Regions from separate parts of the Homo sapiens genome. Here all the other regions are linked to region 5. The links are contacts of gene promoters, found by promoter capture Hi-C in blood cells and fetal thymus (Javierre and others, 2016). All regions are on one chromosome and are shown on one strand. The core of a region is centred on a gene start or on the middle of the fragment in contact, and the rest is flanking DNA. Distances in the headings are between cores, read along the strand shown. Region 1 overlaps MAPKAPK2 (MAPK activated protein kinase 2). Region 2 overlaps DYRK3 (dual specificity tyrosine phosphorylation regulated kinase 3). Region 3 has its middle 4.3 kb from the start of DYRK3. Region 4 has its middle 14 kb from the start of MAPKAPK2. Region 5 holds the start of IL20 (interleukin 20).

What was found. The method cuts DNA at HindIII sites, captures the fragments that hold promoters and counts their contacts. A CHiCAGO score of 5 or more calls a contact.
Region 1: a fragment that was not itself captured here is called in contact with the fragment with the promoter of IL20 in region 5 in 6 of 17 cell types (activated CD4 T cells, naive CD4 T cells, non-activated CD4 T cells and 3 more); the score reaches 9.0 in activated CD4 T cells.
Region 2: a fragment that was not itself captured here is called in contact with the fragment with the promoter of IL20 in region 5 in 2 of 17 cell types (activated CD4 T cells and naive B cells); the score reaches 7.5 in activated CD4 T cells.
Region 3: a fragment that was not itself captured here is called in contact with the fragment with the promoter of IL20 in region 5 in 1 of 17 cell types (activated CD4 T cells); the score reaches 7.9 in activated CD4 T cells.
Region 4: a contact is called between a fragment that was not itself captured here and the fragment with the promoter of IL20 in region 5, in 1 of 17 cell types (activated CD4 T cells). The highest score is 5.3, in activated CD4 T cells.

The regions. Positions count from the first base shown.
Region 1 is chr1:206,703,576-206,706,275 of GRCh38, forward strand. All of the region lies in intron 1 of MAPKAPK2 (MAPK activated protein kinase 2), which reads left to right. Among named protein-coding and RNA genes, the nearest start is that of MAPKAPK2, 20 kb to the left of the region's middle. RefSeq lists an enhancer at 240-549. The HindIII fragment of the contact is 634 bases long and covers 1,120-1,753 here.
Region 2 is chr1:206,648,104-206,650,803 of GRCh38, forward strand. It overlaps DYRK3 (dual specificity tyrosine phosphorylation regulated kinase 3), which reads left to right. Exons shown (of 3, transcript NM_003582.4): 3 at 1-2,700. The coding sequence ends at 862. Among named protein-coding and RNA genes, the nearest start is that of DYRK3-AS1, 14 kb to the left of the region's middle. The HindIII fragment of the contact is 1,066 bases long and covers 786-1,851 here.
Region 3 is chr1:206,629,924-206,632,623 of GRCh38, forward strand. No RefSeq gene overlaps it. Among named protein-coding and RNA genes, the nearest start is that of DYRK3, 4.3 kb to the right of the region's middle. RefSeq lists an enhancer at 1,399-1,468. The HindIII fragment of the contact is 420 bases long and covers 1,122-1,541 here.
Region 4 is chr1:206,669,571-206,672,286 of GRCh38, forward strand. No RefSeq gene overlaps it. Among named protein-coding and RNA genes, the nearest start is that of MAPKAPK2, 14 kb to the right of the region's middle. The HindIII fragment of the contact is 4,234 bases long and covers 1-2,716 here.
Region 5 is chr1:206,864,259-206,866,958 of GRCh38, forward strand. IL20 (interleukin 20) reads left to right here and starts at 1,365. Exons shown (of 6, transcript NM_018724.4): 1 at 1,365-1,428; 2 at 1,565-1,753; 3 at 2,041-2,106; 4 at 2,226-2,378. The coding sequence starts at 1,595. The HindIII fragment of the contact is 6,531 bases long and covers 524-2,700 here.

The DNA of each region.
Region 1 (2,700 bases), core at 187-2,686, 160 kb before region 5:
AAAAATTGGGAAACAGAGGGTAGGCATCAACCCTGGCATTTATCCTAAGGTGATGCAGCACACACTTGTATTCAGCGATAGAGACTTTTCCGTAATGCCTGGTAATATCTCATTGTATTTTCTTTTGATGCTCCTGGGGGCAGGAGGGGAGAGCTGACATCAGAGCCTCCTCCCTTCTAGATCACAACCAGAGCATGAGGAATTCCCCAGCCCCTTGAGGTACCCAGACACTAACCACAATCTCCATCTCTGCTGAAGGCGTTGTAAGAAACATGCAGGCCAGGAACAGTCAGTGGCTTCAGAGCAGGGGCAGCCTGCTAAAGAGGCAGAGGCTTCTTGTGAGGGCGGGGAGCTTGAGAGTGCCCTGCACCCCATCCTGGGGGAGGTGAGCATCTGCTTCTGGGTTCAGCTGCCTGCGGAAGTCAGTGGGAGACACCCTTTCAGGGTCTGCTTCATTATGAATGAAGCAAAAAGCCTATCCCAGGAAATCACAGAGGCTGATGGGTATACCCCAGGGTACACAGGCTATATTTTTCCAATCCAAAGTGAGGGTCTATCTGATAGTTTTTCCTGGAGTTGGGGAGGGGTCCTACTTTCAGATCCAAAAGAAAATCTGAGATATGTCATTTGAATATGAACGCACTAGACTTTCTGGGAAATGTTGAAGATTTACGCCTGTCTGAGTGTCTCTCACTCGTTGTTACCTGTCCATTTGTTACCTGGCCCACGGATGGAGGAGGTCGGATGGGGTCTCCCAGGGTCCCCTTGCTGGGCACGCTTGGCAGGCATCCTGCTTTTCCTTTCAGGTTGCTGGAATTAGTGGTGGTGGTGGCTCAGCTCACCCAGACCATGTGTGATGGTTATGGTGGTGACTTCTCACTGACTGCTGATGTGTACAGTACATTGAAAGCAGTCACCCAACTTCCTTTATAGCCGGATACAAAACAGTGCCTGAGGTCCAGGGTCGGGGAGGACTTGATGAGGGAATAAAACCAGCCGGCTCATCTAGGGGCTGATATCTGTCCGTGGTGACATAAGCACACATGATCTGCAGTCAAGGTTGACTTGAGGGTGTGCATGGGTTCAGTCCCTTTTATGAAGTCTAATGGTCCTTCCAGAAGCTTCATCATCATTTGAACTGAATAAGTGAAGATGAGTGCACCACAAGTGTGTGTGTGCACTTCTTAATCTGTCCATTCATCTGTTCACTGCAGGCTTATTGAGGGAGAAACATGTAAGCAAGGTATTTCTTGTGTACTCCAAGTGGTAGGAGAGCTATGTTCAGGGAACTGGGTGAACTTGGAAGAAGGAGCCGCCCGTTTCTCCAAGTGCAGCGCCAGTCCCGAGACACTCTGTGATCATCTAAACTGGGGAACAGTCTGCAATGCACATTACTGAATTAAAAGCTCTGAGAAGTTCTACAGTGAAAGAATCTGTTTAACTTTGTTTAACCTGGTGCTTCTGCCATCTATATGACCCCTTTTTACTTAGCACTTATTAACATCCTACGGAATACTATTTGAGAAATGGCAACAGCCCCCCTTCTCTGGGAGAACTGTTCAGTGATTCAGAGCAAAAGTCACCTGACTCTGGGTCAGCACAAGTTGGAGAGGTTTGAAAAAGGTGTATGTATGTTTGCATGTGTATGTACGGTGGGTTGGGGGGAGGGGTGTGGCAGAGGAGGGGCCCCGGCAGGTGGCTTCTATTGAAATCAGCTCTGTCTGCCTCCCTGTTGGCTTTGTGCTTCTGGAGAAGCTTTTGTCCTGGCATGAAAACACTGAATAGCAGCTGCATCTGTCATGCCTGGGAAGCAGCAATGTGCAGCATGGGGTTGCATGAGTAGACACTCCTGCTGGAGGGCCAGGCTGCCGAGAGTGCCTGGGTATTGGACAAGGGAGAGGCTGGTGATTCTGAGGCAGCTGCTTGCTAATCCTGGAAGCAGAGGGGAACAAGATTTAGCTCCCTTATCTCTCTGCCTTCTCCTTTCCGATGGGTGCAATTGTGTTGACTCTTGAGGGACAGCCAGGAAGAAGCAGGTGGGCTGGATGCTTTCTCCTTTCTCCACCAACCCAAGGGCATCTGGAGGGTGGACCAGGGCAGAAAGGCGATTAGCTCTCCGTTACCCAGGGAGCTGAGACAAAGGCATTTTGGGTTAAATTCAAGGAGGAATTCAGAATTGTGAACTGGATTTATGGAAGTTTGTGGAGTTTGAAAATTCGAGAGTCCTGGCTGGACTTGTGCTTGGAACGTTGGTCGGAGGTGGATATGAATGATGGGTCCTGCAGATGGCCGACTCCTGAGAAATGACTGGGAGGCTTTACTGGATTTTTCGCTTGGAACAAACCCAGGCTTAGGGAATTCCCGGAGCCTGTTGCAGGCCTCAACACCCTTCTGGTGCAGCTTCGCTGTGAGGCAGTGGTTATTTCTCAGGAAACTGGCAACTGGGAGTAAATGGGAGTGTGGGGTGGGAATCAGCTACTCTTCCTGAGGATTATACACTTCCAGTGTAATTAAGGCGGGGTCAGGATTTCCTATCTCTTATTTATTTATTTATTTATTTATTTATTTATTTATTTATTTATTTGCTTAATCTTAAAAGGCTGCTTTTCCCCTCCTGGTCTTCCCACAGGGACAGGAGTTAGTCTGTTCCCAGAAGGAGCTAGGGGAGGTGTCCTTCATCTCCCATTCCTTCTTGCCCTC
Region 2 (2,700 bases), core at 69-2,568, 220 kb before region 5:
TAAGTTTCAGGGTTTTAGCGTCCAGTTGGTACGCAAGTTTGCCCAGTCCATCTTGCAATCTTTGGATGCCCTCCACAAAAATAAGATTATTCACTGCGATCTGAAGCCAGAAAACATTCTCCTGAAACACCACGGGCGCAGTTCAACCAAGGTCATTGACTTTGGGTCCAGCTGTTTCGAGTACCAGAAGCTCTACACATATATCCAGTCTCGGTTCTACAGAGCTCCAGAAATCATCTTAGGAAGCCGCTACAGCACACCAATTGACATATGGAGTTTTGGCTGCATCCTTGCAGAACTTTTAACAGGACAGCCTCTCTTCCCTGGAGAGGATGAAGGAGACCAGTTGGCCTGCATGATGGAGCTTCTAGGGATGCCACCACCAAAACTTCTGGAGCAATCCAAACGTGCCAAGTACTTTATTAATTCCAAGGGCATACCCCGCTACTGCTCTGTGACTACCCAGGCAGATGGGAGGGTTGTGCTTGTGGGGGGTCGCTCACGTAGGGGTAAAAAGCGGGGTCCCCCAGGCAGCAAAGACTGGGGGACAGCACTGAAAGGGTGTGATGACTACTTGTTTATAGAGTTCTTGAAAAGGTGTCTTCACTGGGACCCCTCTGCCCGCTTGACCCCAGCTCAAGCATTAAGACACCCTTGGATTAGCAAGTCTGTCCCCAGACCTCTCACCACCATAGACAAGGTGTCAGGGAAACGGGTAGTTAATCCTGCAAGTGCTTTCCAGGGATTGGGTTCTAAGCTGCCTCCAGTTGTTGGAATAGCCAATAAGCTTAAAGCTAACTTAATGTCAGAAACCAATGGTAGTATACCCCTATGCAGTGTATTGCCAAAACTGATTAGCTAGTGGACAGAGATATGCCCAGAGATGCATATGTGTATATTTTTATGATCTTACAAACCTGCAAATGGAAAAAATGCAAGCCCATTGGTGGATGTTTTTGTTAGAGTAGACTTTTTTTAAACAAGACAAAACATTTTTATATGATTATAAAAGAATTCTTCAAGGGCTAATTACCTAACCAGCTTGTATTGGCCATCTGGAATATGCATTAAATGACTTTTTATAGGTCAATGCATCTTTGTTATTATCGTCAGATGTATTTCAACTGATGTATTATACTATTGGTTTAAATCTCTTTCTCTCAAGATAGAAGGTGTAGCAAAAGTATCCCAACTACTCCTCGCTTCTAGTGTCCCTCGGCATCTGTTCTGGAGGGGTAATTTGGGATGTGGTGTTAGTTGTGGCTGAGAGCCAGTGCTAGGTCCCTTGCCCCACTAGGCCATTCTCTAGGCTCATTCTAGGTGAAAGAGCTCACAGCAGACTGTGGGGTGGGGGAGCACCAGGAAGCTGTTGGTGACCTGGACAACTGGTGTCCCTGGTTTTCAGTGACTCGCTCCTCTTCCCTTCAGTTCTCTGATGTTTGGTGTTATTATTTTATGTTGTTATTTTGCCTCTGATTTGTTTCCTAGTCACTCAAAGCATTTTACAGAAGCCTTACCACTTTACTAAATAACCCTGTAAGGTACTGATTTAAAAACTGAGTCATATGCATCCCTCCTCCTTTCCTCTCCCATGCCCAAGGAAGATAAAACAGCTTCTCTGCCACAATTGACCCAGAGTGGTAAAGATAGAGAATCAGCATGAAAACTGCAGTTCCCCAGCTTTGTGGTACTCCACGGACCAGCCTCCTTGCTGCATTTTCATAGAATCTCTTCCTTATAAAAGTAATCACTCTCGGATAAACCTTACTACAGTTTAAAAATGCTTCCCTCTTCTCTTTACAGCTACCTGCCACTTCAATGTGCCACATTTTTCCCCCCACTTTCACGTTAAGCTTAATGCTATTCCCTAGATCTGAGTGAACTTCAGTTAGAAGAAGAAAACTAAAAATCCAGAAACTGGTGATAATCAAGTTTTCCCTTTTTATGTTTCTTAATTTTATTCTCTTCAACAGCTTTTCTTTTTCTCTGCTAAGATTTAAACAGTGAGGGCTGATAATAAAACTAATTGTTAAGCCAGTGTCCTACTTACAAGGGTGGAGACGGGACAGAAGCTAACTCACTGCTACTGGGTTTTGTTTGTTGTTTCCTGTCCCTTGCTCTATTTCTGTCCTCTTCCAGAACAAAAGTATGCTCAAGTTCTATCCTAAATGTGTGCTCTTGGCTGGGTATTAGTGGCTCATGCCTGTAATCCCAGCACTTTGGGAGGCTGAGGTGGGTGGATTCCTTGAGCCCAGGAGTTCAAGACCAGCCTGGGCAACATGGTGAAACCCTGCCTCTACAAAAAATACAAAAATTAGCCAGGCCTAGTGGCACATGCCTGTAATCCCAGCTACTTGGGAGGCTGAGGTGGGAGGATCACTTGAGCTGAGATCATGCCACTGCACTCCAGCCTAGGCAACAGAGTGAGACTCTGTCTAAAAAACAAACCAAAAAAAGTGTGTTCTTTAAAGTAGAATATTTGCTTTTTACAATATAGTTCTCAGAATGATCCAGTTCCATTTATTATTCTAGAATGTGGTGCAAACTCAATGACATTGGAAGAGACTCTTTTTGTTGGGCAGTGTAGGAACAAGAAAAGAAAATAAAAATGCCATGAGTATATTATTTAAGGAACTTTTGTTTTATCCAAAAGTAGTCATGATTGCTGTAGCATAGGCTGTGAAAAATGAGAGAGTGCAA
Region 3 (2,700 bases), core at 82-2,581, 230 kb before region 5:
CACCTAGCTGTAGTGAATATCTGTTGTGTTTGCTGTACCATATTCACTTATCTCTTTTTTGGGACCCGCTATAGCAACTTTCCTCTGAAAGTCACTGTTTTCCTAACTTTCTGTCCAATATGTTTCTACTGCTGTGTCTAGGAGCCTCAGGCCTGACCAGTCAGAGTATTACATTTTCCTGGCTGCATATTTGGTTTAAGAATGGGCCCAGTGAAAGCCAGTGAATTACAGTGAGACTGTGGGATGACTGAGACAGCTTTTCTACTGAGTTGAACTTGGAACTGCAGTTGCCATCTTGCTTGCACAAAAGAACCCTGAGAATGAAACTAGCATGTTGGAATATAGAAACAAGAAATGGAGATAGGACAGGCACCCATCATATTCAAATTTAGCTTTACTGCTTTTAAAAAAATACTGTAAAAAAGGTATATGGTACATTTTCTTTTCTTTTTTCCTTGTTTTCTTTTTCTTTTTTTTTTTTTTTTTTTTTTTGAGACAGTTTTGCTCTTGTTACCCAGGCTGGAGTACAATGGCACAATCTCTGGTCACTGTAACCTCCACCTCCTGGGTTCAAGCCATTATCCAGCCTCAGCCTCCCAAGTAGCTGGGATTACAGGTGCCCGCCACCACACCTGGTTAATTTTTGTATTTTTAGTAGAGATGAGGTTTCACCATGTCGGCCAGGCTGGTCTCGAACTCCTGACCTCAGGTGATCCACCTGCCTCAGCCTCCCAAAGTCCTGGGATTACAGGCGTGAGCCACCGCACTCGGCTAGTACATTTTCTTTAAACAGATTTAGTTTGATATTTGCAATAGAAAAAGCCCTAACCTGTACACTAGGTGATTGAGAGAGAACTAGTTCCTTGGCCCAAATGCTGTGAATAGAGCAGGTGCATTGGTCTTCTAAGACCTTCCATGAGCCAGATGACTCAATAGGACTTGGTCTCCAAGGTCTACAGTAGTGATTTCCAAACCTGGCTGATGAACAACAGCCACAATAAAAATATGAGCAGAGATCCTTACCAAGAAACTGTTCATCATTAGATCTGGTGGGATGGAGGGTAGGCATAATTGGTATTTTTCAAAAGTACCCCTATCATTTATTTATTGCCATACCCCAAAGCTTAGTGGCTTAAAGTAATCATTTTATTTGCTCATAATTCTCAAGGGGCTGTTGATTTGGGTGGGGTGCAGCCAAGAGGTTCTTCTGCTAGCTTTACGTGGAACTCTCATATGGCTGCTGTCAGCTGGCAACTCAGCCAGGTGGCTTCCCTCACTTGTCTGGCAATTGGTATTAGCTGAGGACTACAGAAATCCAGCTCAGACTTGTCCACATGGTGGCAGCATCTAAGAGCAAGAGAGAAGAAGCTGTAAGGGGGGTCTCCTGAGGCCTAAGCGCCTAAATTCCTCACGTGTTATTGGTCAAATCAAGTCACGTGGCCAGTCAGCTTCAAGAACCAGGAAAATTGTTTCCTCTACTCCCTGGGAACAGCTGCAAAGGATGTGCTATGTTTAATCTATTACAGTACCCAAGGTTCCTAAGCTTTAATGCAACAAATTACAAATTTAGTGGCTTGAAACAAGGAAAATTTATTATCTTACAGTTCTGGAAGTCAGAACTCCTAAAATTGAGGTGTAAGCAGAGATTCGTTCCTTCTGGAAGCTCTAGAAGAAAATTTGTTTCCCTGCCTTTTCCAGCTTCTAGAGGCCACCTTCATTCCTTAACTCACGGCCCCCTCCTCCATCTTCAAGACCAACAACAGCATCTTCAAATCTCTTTCCCTCTCTGACCTCTGTTCCATGGTCACATTTCCCTCTCTGACCCTCCTGCTTTCCCCTTCCATCCTTTTTTTTTAGATGGAGTCTCACTCTGTCACCCAGGCTGGAGTGCAGTGGCGTGATCTCTGCTCACTGCAACCTCAGCCTCCTGGGTTCAAGTGATTCTCCTGCCTCAGCCTCCCGAGTAGTTGGGACTACAGGCACACACCACCATGCCCAGCTAATTTTTGTGTTTTTAGTAGAGACGGGGTTTCACCATGTTGGCCAGGGTGGTCTCGAACTCCTGACCTCAGGTGATCCGCCCACTTCGGCCTCCCAAAGTGCTGGGATTACAGGCATGAGTTACTGCACCTGGCCTCCCCTTCCATCTTAAAAGGACTCCTGTGATTACAGTGGGCCCACTCAGATAATCTAGGAAAATCACCCCATCTCAAGATCCTTAACTTCATCACATTTGCTAAGTCCCTTTTTGTCAAGTAAAGTGACATATTTACAGATTCTTGGAATTAGGATGCGGACATCTTTGGGGAACTATCATTCTGCTTACCATCTTCAGAATCTTAAATCAAGAGAAACTATGTCACAGAATTCAAGGGTCCAGTGGTCTAGCCTGGGCTAGCCTGCCAGGCTCAGGGAATACAGGTGGAATACAGGCAGTCGAGGGGCTGAGTTTTTCAACCAAACAGACCAGGGTTTGAATTTCAGTTCATCACTTACTGGCTGGGTGACCTTGGGCAAGTTATTAAACTCTGAGACTGTTTTCTGAAGTGTAGGATGGAGATAATACCTATCTCACGGGACTACTGTGAGTTTTAAATGAGCAAATATGTTAAAGTGCTTCAGATAGTGCTTGGAACATAATAAATACTTAGCAAATGGTAATGATGATTAGAAAGACTCCTGGTTTGGTTTCAAGATTTC
Region 4 (2,716 bases), core at 210-2,709, 190 kb before region 5:
TTTTCTTGCTCTGTTGAATCACGCCATGGGAAGATGTGAGACTTAGAGCTGTTGCAGCCATCTTGCAACAATGAAATAATATGCTGAGCTGGATGGTGGAGAGGTCCTGTCTGCTGAGCATGGCAAAGCAGAGGACGGTCAGACCCGGATCCTTGATGGAGCTTGAGGACTTTGTTGAGCTGCTGAACAACCCGAGATCACCTCCCTTTAGCCTTGTTAAGAAACTATTAGCATCTTTATGATTTAAGCCATTGCCAGTTGTCTTTTCAGCTGCATGCGTCCTAACTGATATAGGATGGTTCTCATATTCTGGATCCAAGGTAATTTAGGCTGGTTTTTAAATGAGATTAGGGTACCAGTAAGACCTTTTGAAATGTTGAGGTAAACCATCTTTGACTGTGGTTTCTTCCCTAAAGTAGCACTCAAGGCCATCATTCTTTAAAACAATCCTGATTGTTTAAACAGACCAATTACTTTGCTATGGGTAATGAAGATTATGGAAGTCAGGCCTTTCTGCCTTTTTTGGTTGAAGCCAAGTCAAACTAAGCCTTCCAAGCAAGAGACACCCATTTGTCCTCTCCACAGCTTCTCATAATTATTTCCATGCCTTATTGATACATTGGGAAGTAAACCCTCCTAATTATTGCAATTGGCTACATTTTTATTGTAATATGAGATAAGACTTTGGATATCATGCTTTTCTCTAGAATTTAAGACAAAGGAACTCTCTAGACTGAGAGTTCAAAAGGCTGAGCTTTTGTCTAGAATGTGAGCCTAATGGAAAAGGCGAGATATTTGCAAGGGAGTCATTGCACGCATACTCAGCAAGCACAGACTGCTCCTCTCGGGGCTACTGAGGAGGGCACAGGTGACTGGGAATGGAGTATCTGCCCTTGAGAAATTGACAACTTGGGAGAAAAAAAAGTCCTCAAAAGTGACGAATAAAAGGCCAAGTATAACAAGCATCATAAAGGATGGATTGGAAAAGCACGGGGTTGAAGGCAAGGAATCTAGTTAGTGAGCTAGTGGAATATTCTAGGTGAGAGAAATCTAGGGCAGTTGCAGGGGAGATGGAAAAGAGGGCAGGATACAGGAGGCCTTGCTGAGATAGAGTCAGCAAGAATTGCCAGCTGATTAGATGTGGGATGTGAGGAGAGGGGTGAATAAAAGGACAAACCTCCTGAAACAACAGTGGGAGAGATTTTAACAAATCGTCTGTATTGTCTTCTAGGTATGGGGGGAGGATAGGAAGACAAGAAAAACATCTAGATCATGGTTCTCAAACTTTCATTTAGCTGAGGAATATCTTCTTCAACAAAGCCATCTACATACAGCCAATATATTTGGGGTAGAATGTGTTTTTTTCCCTCCCCTTTCCTTGTTTAGGAGTTGGGCATGCACCAGGGTAGGATAACAGAAGACAGCACAATTGTTCTGTGCAATGATTCGGGGAGGTTCTATGCAGGGCCAGCTTCATGGGCATGCAAGCCATGCATTGCACAGGGACCTGCATTTATAAGGACGCTGTGTGGGTTTAATACTCACTTGGAATTCTTTTCTTTTTTTCAAGACGGAGTCTTGCTCTGTCACCCACGCTGAAGTGCAGCGGCGCGATCTCCGCTCACAACAAGCTCCGCCTCCCGGGTTCACGGCCGTTCTCCTGCCTCAGCCTCCCAAGTAGCTGGGACTATAGGCGCCCGCCACCATGCCCGGCTAATTTTTTTTTTTTTTGTATTTTTAGTAGAGACGGGGTTTCACCGTGTTAGCCAGGATGGTCTTTATCTCCTGACCTCGTGATCCGCCCTCCTCGGCCTCCCAAAGTGCTGGGATTACAAGCATGAGCCACCGCGCCCAGCCTGGAATTCTTAATAATTTCTGAACAAGGTGCTATGCATGTTTATTTTGCACTGGGTCCGGCAAAGGAGCTAACTGGCCCTGAACAGAGGTAGGGAACTAAAGAAACTCGTCTTTTACAGGCTCGGAGATGCCAAGACAGCCAGGGTGGAAATGCATATGAATGATAATGTCCTAATAGTAGTAGTCTATTTCACAGGGTTGCTGCAAGTGTTGAATGAGAAAATATGTGGAAAGTGCTTAGAACAGTGTCTGGCACATAGGGAATGCTGTGGAAGTGTTTGATATCATTACTGTTCCCTCCTTGTACTGGTTCAACACCTGACAGCCTGAGGTTGATTATTCAAAGGGTCACAGTGGGCTTTTCTCATTTTCCCATTTCTAACCTGTCGCTCACCATCCAGCCCCAGGCTTATGATTGTCCTTTGGGGGAAAAAACTCCAACAACAATAATTATCACAATAAATACATAGGTGAGATCACATCCTCTCTTGATCCTTAGTGTAGCTAGCTGGTGCTTCAGGGTGTGTCTGTGTGCTCTGTGTGTCTTTGTTTGTGTCTGAGAGGGAGGTTTTTTTTTTTTCATTTAATTTTAATTCAATTAATTAGAGGCTCTCTCTGGTGGTTTCATTTTGTTTTTCTTTACCTGCCTTTTTGGTTCATATAGCGAGGACCCTGGAACCACCTGCTTCCTCCCTGCCACCGCTTCTCCTCAGGTCCCCAGGGGAAGCCAGGATCTAAAGGATGACTGTGTCACCATTGTCCTCAAGATAATGGCTCCCTCCCCCGCTTCCCTCCACTCCTATCTCATTCTCTTGAGCCTGTGGAGTGTTCAACCTTTGTCCTTCGAGTATAACCCTTT
Region 5 (2,700 bases), core at 115-2,614:
TCCTACATTTGACAGTATCTCGAGTGGTCACAAATGTAAAAAATGTCTAGCATATTGCCTGGCATATAGGAAAAATTCAGTAAGTGATAATGATTATCAGTGCTGTGCCAAGCTATGGAGCCAGCCATATATATATGGATGTGTGCATATATATATATGATGTGTGTGTATATATATATGTCTTTATAAATTTTATGTATTTATTTCTTTCAAAAATATTAAAGTATTTGAGAAAATTGAAAAATTAAAAAGTAGGTTTATTACGACTCATGACTTTAAGTTTAAATATTTTATTTCTGCCCCAAACAAAATTTATTATAATTTTACTGTCCTGGTTTTAAGGGAAGGAAACTCATCAATAATATTTTCATCATATGCTTTTGAGAAACAAAGTTAACCATTAAGAATGAAACATGAAAACATGTGAATAGTGGTACAAATTTTTCCTTTTGCTTCAATATGGCTCAGCATGGCACTGTCGAATTTTGTCTTTATATAAAATTTTGATATTTTGTTTGTCATAAGCTTTTTAATTCATTTTGATATTGCACTAAAATATTTTTATCTTGATGACTGAGGTTTTTTAGTGCTCCCTTAAATTTTGCACCTAAAATGAGTGCCTCAATTGTTTTACCCTAACCTCAGCCCATTATTATTTTATCTTAAAACTCAGCAAACACCCTAACCTGCTCTCTTACTGAGGAGGCTCGCCCAAGAATAAATGAGTTCCGTCATTGCCTTTCTTCTCTGACTTTTGGGACCATTTGCTTGGTCTAGGACCTGAGTTGCAGGTCCAGGAAAGCGTGTACTCTCGAATCCACCCAGGAGTGCCTGACTACAGTCCTCCTGCAGAGGGCGCTGTGGAGTCCCAGACACGAGTGTTAGGTGGAATCGGGCTGATTGCCCATCACGTCTTGCCTTTCCCTGGCAGTAGGCTTGTTATGAAATCATTGACTTTCTATTTGCCTCTGGGGCTTAAGCGAATCTGTTACCCTCAAATAACCTATCTGATCTCAGACAAATGCCAAACAGAGCTCAGTTTCTCTGCCCTGTGGGTGGCCATAAAATCCAGACAATTTCCCCCTAGGTGTTTTCGATGGCGCAGCCACAGCTTCTGTGAGATTCGATTTCTCCCCAGTTCCCCTGTGGGTCTGAGGGGACCAGAAGGGTGAGCTACGTTGGCTTTCTGGAAGGGGAGGCTATATGCGTCAATTCCCCAAAACAAGTTTTGACATTTCCCCTGAAATGTCATTCTCTATCTATTCACTGCAAGTGCCTGCTGTTCCAGGCCTTACCTGCTGGGCACTAACGGCGGAGCCAGGATGGGGACAGAATAAAGGAGCCACGACCTGTGCCACCAACTCGCACTCAGACTCTGAACTCAGACCTGAAATCTTCTCTTCACGGGAGGCTTGGCAGTTTTTCTTAGTAAGTTGCGTGGATGGGCCACACTGTCTGAGGCCAGATAAGGCTGTTCTCTTCCCCTGACCCCCCACCCCTCACCCCGTGGACACTTGGAGGAGGGGAAACTCAGTAAGTCATGCTCTCTTCTTTGAATTCCTAGCTCCTGTGGTCTCCAGATTTCAGGCCTAAGATGAAAGCCTCTAGTCTTGCCTTCAGCCTTCTCTCTGCTGCGTTTTATCTCCTATGGACTCCTTCCACTGGACTGAAGACACTCAATTTGGGAAGCTGTGTGATCGCCACAAACCTTCAGGAAATACGAAATGGATTTTCTGAGATACGGGGCAGTGTGGTACGTAAGCGGGTATCTACCTCTCCTGAAAGCCTTTTCTCTTCCTTCCTTGTCCGTTTCTCTTTCCTGGCAGTACTGGCAGTGTAATCATAAAAAGAGGCAGGCTGGGGATTCCTTACCCGGGGGATGTATTCCAAAGAAATAACTGTAGTTCAAATATTTAAAATGTTTTGGGAAAGGACACCTCCCACTAGTTCTTGGCAGGGAGTGGATGAGAAGTCTTGATATTGAAGACCCTGGCAGCAGGCACTGACTCATCCTTGCTTGTTTTGTCTTCTTCTGTTTAGCAAGCCAAAGATGGAAACATTGACATCAGAATCTTAAGGAGGACTGAGTCTTTGCAAGACACAAAGGTATGTGCTTGGCCCAGACAAACTCTGGGAGGAGGAGTGGAGTGGGAGCATCTCCATCACCCTGGTCTTGTCTCTGCTCTCCCCTTTCCCCTCACCAATATACCTGTGGTTTTTTGCAGCCTGCGAATCGATGCTGCCTCCTGCGCCATTTGCTAAGACTCTATCTGGACAGGGTATTTAAAAACTACCAGACCCCTGACCATTATACTCTCCGGAAGATCAGCAGCCTCGCCAATTCCTTTCTTACCATCAAGAAGGACCTCCGGCTCTGTGTGAGTGTGGGTCTTGGGTGACAGGATGCATCTCAGCACACAGCTTCAATGGCTTAGCAACTAAACTCTCTTTCCTACCTCCATTTAATGGATGGAGAAACTGAGTCCAAAAGTTCTAATAATCTGTGTTGAGACATGTGACTAGGTAATAAGAACTCAGTTTTATTGACTTTTCGGTATATGCTCTAGGCAAAAAGTACTTTGCAAAGTCTAAAGAACTATAAGATGCTAACTATTTGATATTAATGATAACTCTGTTGTCTTTGAAATTATACTTTTTCTGTAGGTGAGGTATCCTACAGTATATTAGTGCGTCCTCTGT